Linked DNA regions of Homo sapiens: regions 1, 3, 4 and 5 are each linked to region 2. Evidence: promoter capture Hi-C in 16 types of primary human blood cells and fetal thymus (Javierre and others, 2016). All regions are on one chromosome and are shown on one strand. The core of a region is centred on a gene start or on the middle of the fragment in contact, and the rest is flanking DNA. Distances in the headings are between cores, read along the strand shown. Region 1 has its middle 53 kb from the start of MATCAP2. Region 2 holds the start of SEPTIN7-DT (SEPTIN7 divergent transcript). Region 3 overlaps ANLN (anillin, actin binding protein). Region 4 overlaps MATCAP2 (microtubule associated tyrosine carboxypeptidase 2). Region 5 overlaps MATCAP2 (microtubule associated tyrosine carboxypeptidase 2).

The links. The method cuts DNA at HindIII sites, captures the fragments that hold promoters and counts their contacts. A CHiCAGO score of 5 or more calls a contact.
Region 1: a fragment that was not itself captured here is called in contact with the fragment with the promoter of SEPTIN7-DT in region 2 in 1 of 17 cell types (M1 macrophages); the score reaches 5.5 in M1 macrophages.
Region 3: a fragment that was not itself captured here is called in contact with the fragment with the promoter of SEPTIN7-DT in region 2 in 1 of 17 cell types (fetal thymus); the score reaches 5.1 in fetal thymus.
Region 4: a contact is called between a fragment that was not itself captured here and the fragment with the promoter of SEPTIN7-DT in region 2, in 1 of 17 cell types (erythroblasts). The highest score is 5.3, in erythroblasts.
Region 5: a fragment that was not itself captured here is called in contact with the fragment with the promoter of SEPTIN7-DT in region 2 in 9 of 17 cell types (fetal thymus, neutrophils, naive CD8 T cells and 6 more); the score reaches 11.0 in fetal thymus.

The regions. Positions count from the first base shown.
Region 1 is chr7:36,312,924-36,315,623 of GRCh38, reverse strand. No RefSeq gene overlaps it. Among named protein-coding and RNA genes, the nearest start is that of MATCAP2, 53 kb to the left of the region's middle. The HindIII fragment of the contact is 845 bases long and covers 1,011-1,855 here.
Region 2 is chr7:35,799,300-35,801,999 of GRCh38, reverse strand. It overlaps SEPTIN7-DT (SEPTIN7 divergent transcript), which reads left to right and starts at 1,375. Exons shown (of 5, transcript NR_120512.1): 1 at 1,375-1,510. It overlaps SEPTIN7 (septin 7), which reads right to left and starts at 943. Exons shown (of 14, transcript NM_001788.6): 1 at 730-943. The coding sequence starts at 790. RefSeq lists silencers at 32-481, 512-751 and enhancers at 902-1,291, 906-1,529, 1,652-1,711. The HindIII fragment of the contact is 5,766 bases long and covers 1-2,700 here.
Region 3 is chr7:36,401,371-36,404,070 of GRCh38, reverse strand. All of the region lies in intron 3 of ANLN (anillin, actin binding protein), which reads right to left. Among named protein-coding and RNA genes, the nearest start is that of ANLN, 13 kb to the right of the region's middle. The HindIII fragment of the contact is 5,463 bases long and covers 1-2,700 here.
Region 4 is chr7:36,344,223-36,346,922 of GRCh38, reverse strand. The region is part of intron 2 of MATCAP2 (microtubule associated tyrosine carboxypeptidase 2); the gene reads left to right. Among named protein-coding and RNA genes, the nearest start is that of MATCAP2, 22 kb to the left of the region's middle. The HindIII fragment of the contact is 4,851 bases long and covers 1-2,700 here.
Region 5 is chr7:36,362,111-36,364,810 of GRCh38, reverse strand. All of the region lies in intron 1 of MATCAP2 (microtubule associated tyrosine carboxypeptidase 2), which reads left to right. Among named protein-coding and RNA genes, the nearest start is that of MATCAP2, 3.8 kb to the left of the region's middle. The HindIII fragment of the contact is 6,130 bases long and covers 1-2,700 here.

The DNA of each region.
Region 1 (2,700 bases), core at 184-2,683, 510 kb before region 2:
GTCCCTAATGCCCTCCCAACAATAATAATTTAATTAAATAATTTGTCGCAATAGAAGTCAGCAGAGTACTTGGGAAATGGCATCTTCCATCACTGACTACTGGCAATTGGCCAGACACCAAAACCAAAAGCTGCAGGGCAATCCTGCCTTATGTGGTTTGACCCTGAAGGTCAGGGTTGCCCCTACTCTCACTGGTGGCCTCTCTCATGCCCAGCAAACTCCTTCCAACAAGGGTCCCCTTGCCTATTTTCAGTGGTGGTTTAAACTCTGTGCCCCCCACTTCTGATGGGGCCCTGACATCTGAACTTGTCCCCCTGTATGGTGTTGGCTCCCACAAAGGGGCCTCCTCATGCTTGGCTGGGGACCGTCCACCCCTGGACACTGCTCAGCTCTGCACAGAAGCCAGGATTGAAAGACATCCTCCAGACTGTAGAAAATTGCCCCCATCCCCAGGGCATGTTCTGCATTTCTCAGTGCCATCCTGCTCACAGATTTGGGTGGTCTGGGAACTCCCCAAACCTTTCCATCCACATTGCACTCCTGTCTTCCCTAGAGACACTTGGCCACCACTGAAGATAATGATGGTGGTGACGATTTCATGCCAAATATATTTCATTTAATCTTTATGACAATATTAAAGGTAGTAGACATACCTCCATTTTTCAGGTAAAGAAACTGAGAGGCTCAGAGGGGTCGAGTGACTTTCCCAAAGTCACACCAATAGTAATTTCCGGAAAGGATCTGAACAGGAGTTTGGGCTCATAACACCCATTATAGCCATGCTCTTAGTGCTACCCAGGGCTTCCCTCACTCTCTTCCTGTCAATGCCCTGAAACTTGCTTCAACCTCCAGCTCCACCTGGCACCTTTCCAGGGACCCACTCCCAAAGGGTGGGTAAATGTCACCCTAGCTCTGATGCTCAGACGCAGAGATACTGCAGAGAGGATGGGGTAGTGGTGGTGGAAGAAAGCAAGGAAGGGAGAGGACACCCTTGAGGTGAGAGACAAGCTTCACTGGTAACCCCAGGGTTTCTCTGCTCTCTGCTCTCTCCCTCCCCACATCAGGATCTGCCCTGGGTGACAAGACCAAGGGAGGTGAGCTGGTGGAGACCGGCACCATCCCAGGTCTCCCTCAGCCTATTTGTTGCTGCTCTTGGCTACAGAGCCTTCTTTGGGGAGGCGGGCAGAGCCACATTCCACCTGACTTTGTGGGGCTGAGTAGTTCTCCTGCATTCCCTCTCTGAACTTCATTCATTCATTTGCTTCTCCAATGCCATGATGTGCCAGGTTCTGGGGATACAGACATGATCATCTATTAGTCTCCTAGGGGTGTCATAACAAATTACCATCAATTGAGAGGCTTACAACTAGAGAAATTTATTCACCCATGGTACTGGAGTCAGGGAGTCCAAAATCAAGGTATGAGCGAGGCCACTCCCTCTGAAGCCTGCAGGGAGGACCCTGCCTCTCCTCTTCCAGCCTCGGACGCTGCTCCGCAGTGTTCCTTGGCTTGCAGCTCCATCACTGTAATCTCTGCCTCCGTGGCCACTTGGCCCTCTCCCTGTTTGTTTCTGTTTTTTCTTCTTCTTATATGAATACTAAGTCATATAGGATGAAGGGCTCACTCTACTCCAGTAGGACCTTATCTTAATTGTGTCTGCAATGACCCTATTTGCAAATAAAGTCACAGTCTAAAGTACTAGGGGTTAGGATTTTAATATAAATTTTGAGGGGACACATTTCAGCCCATAAGAAAAGGTAACAGCCTCCCTGCTCTTAAAACATCATCATGATCAATCATCACCATCGTCATCATCATCATCATCATCATCGGGACTGTCATCTTCAGGTAAGCTTCCCTCTACTTCTCTACATGTGCAGTCTGGCTGGGAGGCAGGCCTGACAGCCGAGGCACTCCACGGTTTGATGTGTGTTCTCATAGAGGAATGTCCCACCCTTGACGGGAGCACAGCAGACCCATCATGGAAGGCTCTGGAAGGGCAGGTTTCCCCACCCGCTCCCAACTGCCTGGGCAGTTGACCTATAGGCACCCTAGTTCAACTTGTCCAAAACGGGGATTAGCATCTTCTCCCCAAACCTGGCTCTTTTCCTGAATTTTTCTTTTTTCTTTTTTTTTAAACCTAACAAAGATCAACTTCTTAGAAACCTGAAGCTGGTCAGGGTGGAGGCAGAACTCGAACCCATGTCCTTGTGACACTCAACAGTGTCCCAATAGCCCACCTCTGCACTTGCTTTCCAGCCCCTCAGGCCTTTCTCTGAGACTAGTGTGACCAACCTGGCCCCCACCAGCTCTGCTAACACCTTAGCCGAAGGACCGCACAATAATATGCCGGCAACGAGAGCCATCCCCCATCCCTGCCCCGATACCTGCGCCGCTCCCGGCACTGCGGATGCAGGCCCCCTCCTCTACCTGTTCCTACTCCCACACAAGCCTGCAATGCTCCCCAGCGCCGCAGAACCACCTCAACATCCTTAGCCTGCCTTGGAAGAGCTGGCCTGTGGCTCCCGTCAGTCTCCTCTCCATATCTCGTCCTAAGCTCTTGCCAGGAGCAGCCACATCACTGCTGTCCTCCCTCCACACCCCGGCCCTCCTGGTCCCCTCTTCCGGGGATGCCATCTGCTACTCACCCGGTCAGGTCCCCGCTCAAGGGGACCTCTCCCAGGAAGACTCCTCAGACTC
Region 2 (2,700 bases), core at 126-2,625:
AATTCCAAACCAAACTACCGATTCTCCCTCCGTTCTCAAGACTCGCCCGCCATCCACCGGCCTTCCGGGCTGCGCCTGGAGAGAGGCAACCCCGAGAGGCGGGAGGAGGAGCGGGGAGGCGACGCGGTGACTGGAGCTGCGGCTGCAGCCGCCGCCGCCGCCTCCACCACAGCCTCAGCCTGGTGCATCCTTCTTCCTCCCTCCCCGCCGCCGCCCGCCCGGGTTGGCCCACACAGCACCCTCGCCCGAGCGTTCACACTCGTCCCCACCCTCCTAGCCAGGCCCACTGCCCCACGAGGGGACTTCTGCCGACGGGGATGCGGCCGGGGACAGGAGGAAGCGGGGCCGCGGAAGCCGGCGGGCCCGGGAGGAGACTGAGGAAAGGCGAAGGGACGGAGAGAAGCAAGGGCAGGGCTGAGACCACCACGCTCAGGCTGCTCCGGCCGCGGAGGCCGCGGCTCTGCGCCGGGGGCCAGCCCGCCGCGGCACAGGAAATGCCGCCGCCTCGGCTCTCCTCACGTTCAATTCAAACTGTCACCGCCGCCGCCTCCCCTCCCCCCGAGCCCGCCGCTGCCGCGCCCCGGGCCCGCAGTGGCCCCCATCCCGGCTCCCCTCGCCGCTGCCTCCGCCTCGCCTCAGGGCGTTCCCTAGCTCGGTCCAGCGGCCGCAGAGCTTCCCGGCATTCGGAGCCGCTGACCCCAAGTCGCGGCACCCGAAGCTGAGACTCACCCATGGTGCTGCTGTTGACGCTCCTCTCCTCAGCAGCAGCGGATCTCGCACTGACCGACATCCCCTCCCCCCCTCCGCGACCAGCCCCAGCGGAGCGCAGCCCGCCGATTCTCCAAAGGCGCCTACGCCGATTCCGCAGCGTAGCCGCCCGGCGTAGCTGCCTTGCTTACGCACGCTACAGCAGGCGGACTCCTCCACAGGCTCTCGCTCGACTCCCGCTCCCTCCTCCGTCCCCCGCCCCCTCAGACGAGGCTTCCGGGCCTAGCGGAGGCTGGCTTCCATCTCGCGAGATTACCGCCTCCCCAGCTCCGCCGCCTCGCTCCATTTCGAGCATGACTTCATTGGCGTCAGCAACGTTTTGCTGTTCGGGTTTAGCCGCCATGTTTAAGTTGGCCGGGTTTCGCACCACTGAGGTCATGGATACTCAGGCCTCTTTGCGTGTTTCTTCAACACTGCTTCTAAGGTTAACCGCGTTACATTTGTTGGAGAAAATCCTGGGAACGCTGAAAAGGACTAGTGGGTGGGGTGCGAGGGTGGGGTCTTGCCCGAATTAAAGATGGCCGCAGTCAGCTCTGCCCCGCGCAATTTCACGTCAAGTTTTGGAGCTGCGGGAGCCGGCCAGTTGGCCTCAGCGCCTCCTTACGGAATTGGCGTAAGGCAAAGAGGCGCGGCTGGAAGAACCAGACTGAGAAAGTGCCACAGGGCGGGGGCCGCATCCGCCCCTCGGCTTCTGGTTACTGACCCGACGGCTTTGTGAGTGAAAGTGAAGAGACACTTCGAGGCAGGTGTCTGTGCTCCCCATTCATCCCTGTTTCCGTGGCTATCTTGACTTTCGGGGTGAAAAGTGAGGTTAGGCCCTGTTTCCCCGACCCTTCCCTCGCGCCATCACACTCTAGTGGCCTGGCACAGCCCCAGAGGTCGGCCGCTGTAGCCCCCATTGCGGACTCGCCACATTCATATTGGCTCACCTTGTCGGTGCCCGGTTCGGTCCTCTTGGAGCTCACACTCCAGTTGAGGAAATGAATGGACACAGGAACTACTGGGTAACAAAATACTAATAAAGGGCTGCGATTGTGTGAGTTTCTACTGTAGCGATGAATGTCGCTGTCATTGGAACGTTCCCCAAGTGCCTTCTAGTGAAAGCCTTACTTCACTCGGAATAACCTGTGGTCTTTTCTTGAACGTGATGGCTCTCTTGGTTGTATTCTTCATGCACATGTGTTACTTTTCCTGTTTAACTACATGTTAAAGAAATGTGTATGTTCCTGTTTAACTGCATGTTTTAAAAAAGTATGTGTATTTTTAAGTTATAGGCACGTGCAAGAAAGTTCAGAGCAAAATAGCTTATATTAGTGAAACAATAAATGTCTACTAATAGGAGAATGGATGAATAAGTGTCATTGTTGAACAAATTGACATACAACACGAACCAAAAAATCAGTGAACTAAAGCTACCATTTTTCATATGGATAGAGTCATTAACCTAATATTGAGGAAGAAATGAAAAGACAGGTTGCGGAAAGATATATATGACATACCATAAATAAAAGTTTAATAATTACAAAAAAGTAAGATCAAACTAAAAATTGTATAAGGAAATGATAGATACCAAATTCAGAATACTGGTTGCTTCCAGAGATGAACAGAAGGGAATGTAACAAGAAGGGTTCATTTGTATCTATAACGTTTGTTTTCTACCAGAAATATCTTGAAAATGTGGCAAAACATTAAGCTAAGTAGAGGGCACATGGGTGTTCACTTGTAATTATTTCCTTTACTGTTCTATATACTTGAAATATTTCCAAGTAATTTTTTTTAAGAAAAGAAACTTATAGAAGCAACTTATTTTGTATCTTGATATATGCCATTTCGTAAGTCTACATTTTTACTGAACTGCTTATGAAGTCTGTTGCAACTTATCTGTTCAATCATTGTTTTAAGTTTCTGAAACTTCAAATGAACTTTTACTTT
Region 3 (2,700 bases), core at 94-2,593, 600 kb before region 2:
TGAACCCAGGAGGCGGAGGTTGCAGTGAGCCGAGATCGTGCCACTGCACTCCAGCCTCGGTGACAGAGCAAGACTCCCTCTCATAAACAAACAAACAAACAAACATCCCGGCAAGGAGCGGTGGGCTCATGCCTGTAATCCCACCACTTTGGGAGGCCAAGGCGGGTGGATTGCTTGAGCTCAGGACTTCAAGACCAACCTGGGCAACACGGCAAAACCTACGAAAAATGCAACATCTACAAAAAATGCAAAACTTAGCTGGGCTTGGTGATGCGCCTATAGTCCCAGCTACTCGGGTCACTGAGGTGGGAGGATCGCTAGAGCCTGGGAGGTGGAGGAGGTTGCAGCGAGCTGAGAGCATTACCACTGCACTCCAGCCTGAGCAATGAGGCAAGGCCCTGTCTCAAAAAAAATAAACATCCCCTCATTGATATACATCCTCTTTAACTACCGCCCCTCTTTCCCTGCACAATATTCACGCACCACTTAACTCACTCAACTGACCTTCTGCCTATACCACTGCCCTGAAGTTGGTTTTGCCATTGTCACTAGATGCCAGTACACACTTTGCAGGCTTTGTATTTCTTGACATCTCTAAAATATATCACTCCCTTTCTATTTGTGACATCATTCTCTACTATCCTTCCTGGCTTATCCTTCACAGTCTTGCAACTACCAAATACCTCCATTTGGCTCTCCCACAGATATCCCAAATAACATATGTGAAGTTGAAATTGCCCCGAACATATTCCTCCTCATCTTAGGAAAAGACATCACTAACTACCCAGTCACTGAGGCCAGGAATCTGACCTCTTCCTCCCTTCTCCCTCCACCATCCAGTCGTTAGGTCTTAGAGTTTGTCTCCTGTATCTCTCAAATCCAGCTTCTCCTCTTCATTTCCACAGGCCTTCACTCTTTGCACCTAGATTATATTATATTATATTATATTTTTTGAGAAAGAGTTTCGCTCTTGTTGCCCAGGCTGGAATGTAATGGCGCGATCTCGGCTCACTGCAACCTCCGCCTCCCGGGTTCAAGACATTCTCCTGCCTCAGCCTCCCAAGTAGCTGGGATTACAGGCATGCACCACAGAGTATAGTTACAAGAGCTAGAGGTCTTATTAAGCCCATTCCTAAAATATGACAATAAAACTGTCATCTGCTGATAGGACAGTGTTTATTCTAGGGAAAATAACAGAAGTATATAAAGGGTATTGCAGGTAAAGTGGTGGTCAGGGAGGCTTTTCTGGAGGAGGGAGAGACTCCTTAAGCTGGACTCTGAAGGACAACTGGCTTCAGAGAATGGAGATAATCTAGTCAGAAAAACAAAAATGTATAGAAAGCAGAGGTAAGTAACATGAGCAGAGTGTGTGTATAAGTAGATCCTATTCTGGTGTTTAAAGCAAGCAGTAGAAAAGCAAGAGTTACATTTTTTTTCCATTCTGAATGTGTCAAAATAGAGAGATACGTTTGAAAAAGAGCAGGTCCAGATTGGAATTTAATCAGGAGGTGATGGGGAGGTCCTGGGAGAGTTTAAAGCAGAAGCAGGCAAGTGTTTTAGAAAAATCGCGCTGGTGTGAAAATTGAGGAGGGACTGGACAGGGCAGAGGTCTGAAGCAGGAAGACCAGTTAGAAGGCTAGTATTATAACCTAGGTGCAGGCAGGACACGGTGGCTCACACCTGTAATCCCAGTATTTTGGGAGGCCGAGGCGGGTGGATCACCTGAGGTCAGGAGTTTGAGACCAGCCTGGCCAACATGGTGAAATCTTGTCTCTACTAAAAATACAAAAAATTAGCTGGGTGTGGTGGCGTGTGCCTGTAATCCCTGCTACTCAGGAGGCTGAGGCAGGAGAATTGCTTGAACCTGGAAGGCAGAAGTTGCAGTGGGCCAAGATTGTGCCACTGCACTCCAGCCTGGGAAACACAGCAAGACTCCACCTCAAAAAAAAAAAAAAAAATAGCTTTATTGAAGAGGCAATGTTACAGCTCTGTTGATTCCCTGTGCAGAGCAGGGCTACTCCATAGGCAGAGAGTAGCAGTTCAGGGCAGTTTTACAATCATATTTATACCTACTCTTAATTGCATGCACATTAAGGGGCAGCTTATGTAGAAATATCTAGGGAAGGGATAGTAACTTTTGGGTCATTGCCATGGAAAGGGGTGGTAACTCCTGGGTGTTGCCATGGCAATGATGAATTGACATGGCACACTGGTGGGCATGTCACTGGAAAGCTGCTTCCCCCAGGCCCTGTTTTAGCTAGTCCTCAATTTTTTTTTAATTTATTTGTTTGTTGTTGTTGTTATTTCTCTATCTTGTCCAGTGTCCAAGTCCCGCATCTGGAGTCGAGTCCTACCTCTTACCTCACCACTGCTAAAATAAATAGGTATTAATTGACACCATAGACTATGCTATGTGCCAAAAAACATCAGGTGGCCTGCCGAGGTGGCTCACGTCTATAATCCCAGCACTTTGGGAGGCCGCGGCAGGCGGATCACCTGAGGTCAGGAGTTCAAGACCAGCTTGGACAACATGGTGAAACCTCATCTCTACTAAAAATACAAAAATTAGCTGGGTGTGATGGCATGTGCCTGTAATCCCAGCCACTCGGGAGGCTGAGGCAGGAGAACTGCTTGAACCTGGGAGGCGGAGGTTGCAGTGAGCCGAGATTGCGCCACTGCACTCCAGCCTGGGCAGCACAG
Region 4 (2,700 bases), core at 90-2,589, 540 kb before region 2:
CTAGTGTGGTGGCGGGCACCTATAATCCTAGCTACTCAGGAGGCTGAGGCAGGAGAATCGCTTGAACCCGGGAGGCGGAGGTTGCAGTAAGCCAAGATCGTGCCACTGCACTCCAGCCCGGGCAACAGAGCGACACTCTGTCTCAAAAAAGTAAAATAAAATAAATAAAACTAGAGTACAGTTCAGTGGTTTTTAATGTATTTAGAGTTGTGCAACTATAACCACTAATTCTAGAACATTTCGTCACCTCAAAAAGAAACACTGTACCCATTAGCAATCGTTCCCCATCTCACCAACCTTCCAGCCCTAGGCAACCACCAGTCTATTTTCTGACTTTCTGGATTTGCCTGTTCTGGACTTTCGATATGAATGGAATCATACAATACCTTGTGGTCCTTTGTGACTGGCTTCTGTCACTTATTATAATGTTTTCAAAGTTTATCCATGCTGTGTTCTAGCATGCATCAGCATTTTTTATTGCTGAATAATATTCCATGTATGAATATACTACATTCTATTTTTTTTATAATTTGATAGACATTTGGGTTATTTCTACTTTTTGGCTGTTAATAATGCTGTATGAACATTTGTGTACACATTTTTTATGGACAAATGTTTTCAGTTATCTTGGGTCCACATCTAGTAGTGGACTTGTTAGTACATATAATTTCTCTATGTTTAACCTTTTAAGGAACTGCCAGACTGTTTTTCAAAGTGATTATACCATTTTAGTTTCCCATGAGCAGCATGTGAGCGTTCCAGTTTCTCCACGTTCTCATCAGCCCTTTTTTTTTCCTATAGACATCCCAGTGGGAGTGAAGTGGTATCTCATTGTGCTTTTGATTTGCAATTCCCTGATGGTTAATAATGGCCATTTTGTATATCCTCTTTGGAAAATTGCCTATTTCAGATCCTTTGCCAATTTTTCAGTTGAGTTATTTGTTCTTGAGTTGCAGGAGTTCTTTATATATTTTAGATATCAGATATGAAATTTGCAAACACTTTCTCCCATTCTTTGGGTCACTTTTTATTTTTATGATAGTATCCTTAGAAGCACAATTTTGATGAAGTCCATCTTATCTTTTTGTTGTTTGTGCTTTTGGTGTCATATCTAAGATCCCATTGCCTAATCCAGGGTCATGAAGATGTATGCCTATGCTTGCTTCTAAGAGTTTTATTGCTTTAGCTCTTAAGAGGTTAAGGTCTTGGATCCATTTTGAGTTAATTTTTATATATGATATGGGATAGAGGTCCAACTCCATTCTTTTAAATGTGGATATCCAATTGTCCCAGCCCCACTGTTTGAAAATAATTTGATTACATACTGTTCTAATTTTAATAGAGGAGAATAAAAGTGCTTCAGGATCCTGAGATGACAGATCTGTAATATGAATAATGGTGCTATTCTATTTTGTGTGGCATTGTAAGTGACATTCAGGTGAGGAGAGAACAATTACTCATTTTGCTTTTATTTCCTCTTTGCTCTAGATTCCAGGTCTCTGAAAATCAATTTGTTTTGATGCCTATAAGATATGCAAAGGTTTATTTAAAATATTCTCTTCTTCAACTGTATGCTTCTGGTGAAGAAAAATCTTTTAAAAATTTAAAAATATATTCTCATTCTATAAAGTGGGAAAGATTCAGAAATGATTGATTTGTGAATAGAGATAATAACAATTTAGTAAAAATATGGGTTTTTTTGTTCAATGTTTTTAAAAAGGCAAAAATGTATTTGGTTGCTTGTTTCACATCAGTTTTAGCAAGAAGTGTTATCCTACCTGACAGTGTGTCTTGTGGAACTCAAGAGTAGATTCCGTTATACTATTTTCTAACAAGGTAATGGAGGAGTTGGCCAAGTACATTTTAAGATGTACACAAAGGGAAGGTCCAAAGTCAGATTCATGCGGACTAGGAGGCTGAGACCTGGACAATAGGGATAGGTGTGTGTACATTAAGATGTTCTGGTTCTAGGAATTTTAAAACTGATTTATGAAAATTTGTAATGTTACATTGCTTTCTACTTATGTCGCTATTCTTAGAGTTGGAAGGAAGCAAAGAATATATTTGATATCTGTGGGCAAATCTGGGCTGGATTTTTAGGGAAGTGGCTCTCTGTTCCATGAGTTAACCTCAAGAATGCAAAATATACCAACTGTTTTCCTGCTAACAATCATCCCTACCTAAAAATCTATTATAGAAAAATATTAGTTGAATTTTTAAGATTTAAAAACAATTTCATGTATTTCTTTGTTAAATGCAAATACTCCAGAGAAGGGATATCAATGCCTACCTGGCAAATGGGAAAAGGTAATTAGATAGTGAATAGAAAGGCCAGGAGATTCCAAAGTAGAAGGCACTTAACCATTTGTTTTTCCAGTTAGAAAAGTAGTTTATATTCAGTATAAAAACTTAGAAAAGTGTGGAGAATAAGAATCCCATAATTCTACCACCCACAGGTAACCACTATTGACCTTTGAGAGTATTTTTCTTTTCCCATGCTTAATGATCATAATTGTGGTCAATGTACTTTCACTTACTTATCATAAACATTTTCTCATATCATTAAAAACCATCAACATTTTTTATGTCAGCATCAGTTTCAGTGCCTGCATATTTTTCATATAATAGGTGTATAGTAATTAACTTGAATATTTAGATTGTTCCTTATTGGACTTTTTTATTTCAGAGAAACAGTTTTGT
Region 5 (2,700 bases), core at 48-2,547, 560 kb before region 2:
TCTAGAGCCCTGTGCCCAGCATTTCACTGCGATATCAGAAAAACCCAGTTTGGACAGCCAGAAACTTCATGTAGAGAGTTAAGCTGAAAACATGCCCTCCTCTCCCCTGGTCATTCCCTCACGATTCATTGATATCTGAGATGGCCATGTTCTTCTTTCTGGTTAGCAGAACTTGATTGTGGTAAGAGTACTGATGGAAATGTGTTCATTTTTTTTTCAGCTCTAAAAGTCGTTACAAATATAGAACAGACTCATTTTATATTTCAGGAATGAAGCAATTACTTGTTTCTGAAATCCTTCCTATATAATATCTTACCCACTTTTGACTTATTAGTATATGCTATCTATGCTGTTTAAAAATGGAATCAAATCAGAAAAGGTTTTTTTGACTTCTCATGGCCTTTTAAAGAAGAAGGTTCTGAGGCTGGGTGCAGTGGCTCACACTTGTAATCCCAGCAGTTTGTGAGGCGGAGAGCAGGCGGATTACCTGAGCTCAGGAGTTCAAGACCAGCCTGGGCAACACGGCAAAACCTTATCTCTACAAAAAATTAAAAAATTAGCCGGGCATGATGGCCTGCGCCTGTAGTCCCAGCTACTTGGAAGGCTGAGGCAGGAGTATCACTTGAGCGCCCAGGCGGCAGAGGTTGCAGTGAGTCAGGATTGCCACTGCACTCCAGCCTTGGCCACAGAGTGAGACCCTGTCACAAAAAAAAAAAAAAGAAGAAGAAGATTCTACTTTAGCTTCCGGGATTTAAAAAAAAAAAAAGGGTTTATTATACCAAAGCCACTAAAATCTTGATTCTAAAATATAGATTAATTACCTTATTAACATGAAATTTGCCTTGGAATTCAAATTTAATGATTCAGAATATTTCCCTATGTACATTTTTCCATGCGGTGTTTCTATAGGAGCTGAATATAATATTTAATGTGATACTAATAATAGTTAACAAAGGCTGCTTACCTATAGTCCAGCACTGTTCTCAGCACTTCACACATATTCACTTTTAAAATCCTTACAATAATACTATGAAGTATGCATTATTATTATCCCATTTTACAGATAAGGAAACTGTAGCACAAAGAAGTTATGTAACTTGGTCAGGGTAATAGCTATTAATAAACAGAGCCAAGATTCATACCAGACAACTCCATTCCAAAGTCCATGTTGTCAACTGCTAGGAAAATCAGCTCACTATTATAGTGACTGTACACTGATTTGAGCCACAAAATCCAACATCAAGATTTCATGTAATATCAGTGTGACATTATCCGATGGTTTGCTCAACTGTTGGTTTTTAGATTTTTAATCACAGGCAAGTATGTAATAATTTTTACCTGGGAAAATCATATTTCACTTGAATAAAAATTTGTTGTTTTCAAAATAGAACGCATCTAGTTCATTCATTAACAAAATGCTGTGAGAAACCATATAAGATTATGTTCATTTATGATTGCCTATCGGCTTTATTTTGTATGTGATATAAGGAGAGATTAATGAGTCATTCCAGAAATGAAGTGTCTTTATATCAAAGATGAATGTTTAAAAATACTGGAAATGAAAGTCTTAAGGCCATCGTTAGGCCATACAGGTTGAATATACCTAGGCACATAGCTCCTGTTTGTCCTACAGCAGCAGGTACCTACCATGTTGTCTTCAACATCACTAATTGTTTCATTTTTCTTTTACCTTCCTGGGATAATTTTTTCCTCAACCGTCAGGCAACTAAGTCTTTTACCCTTTCTTTCCTCTCAAATATTCTCTTCCCTTGTCTACCTCTCTGGCCCCCCTTTCATAAGCAGGACAGTGAATAAGCAAAACCAAACACAGATGTATGTTGTAAAAGAGCTTATAATTTCATTGTTGACGAAGTCTGTCATACAACAAATATAAACCTGCAACCATGATAAAGTACTTCGAAGAAGAGATACAAGGTGTTATGAGGGTCTAAAATGAAAAAGTTAAGGAAGGCTTCCTGACCAAGTGCTATTTGAACTGAAAGATGAGTGGATATTAATCTAACAAAGAGAGGGATAGAAGGGCCCAGCAGACACAGGGAGCAGCATGTGAAGAAGTATGTTCGGAGAGAGCATAGTGAGTATGAGATATGGTCAAAGTGAGAGAAGGCTGGAGTGGAGAAATTGAGGAACACAGTGTGAGGTGAGGCTGCAGAGGCAGAAGGATCTGACCAAGAGTGACCTCATAGACCATGGTTAGGAGTTTTGTCCATCCCAAGGGAAAGCCATGGGAAAGTTTGTTTCTGGCACATTTAGTGTTATTTTAGATGATGTATAATGCTCACTCTTACCACAACCATCACCATCAAGGGTATCTAGACTACTCTGTATTTCTAACTGTAAAAACAACAAACACACAAGTTTCTGACCCCAAAACAACAGTGTCCCATTATAAGTTACTAATAGAGCAGCACTGAATTGCTCTTACCTGGGGCTGTGAAATTTTTAAGAATCCTAAAGTACAGTCAAGTTTCTGAATTCCTGAATGACATTAGCAGTGCCTTTCGTCTCATTTTCATACAGTCGATAAACTACATTGGTTGCTATTGAATTTAGAGATACTATAGTTAATAGATTATCTGTTATAGTGCAGACAAATTGAGCAATAAATATGTTTTTAAGGATACTGATTTTATACACCATTAAAAAAATTAAAGTGTAACTTAAATAAAGTCTACAAGT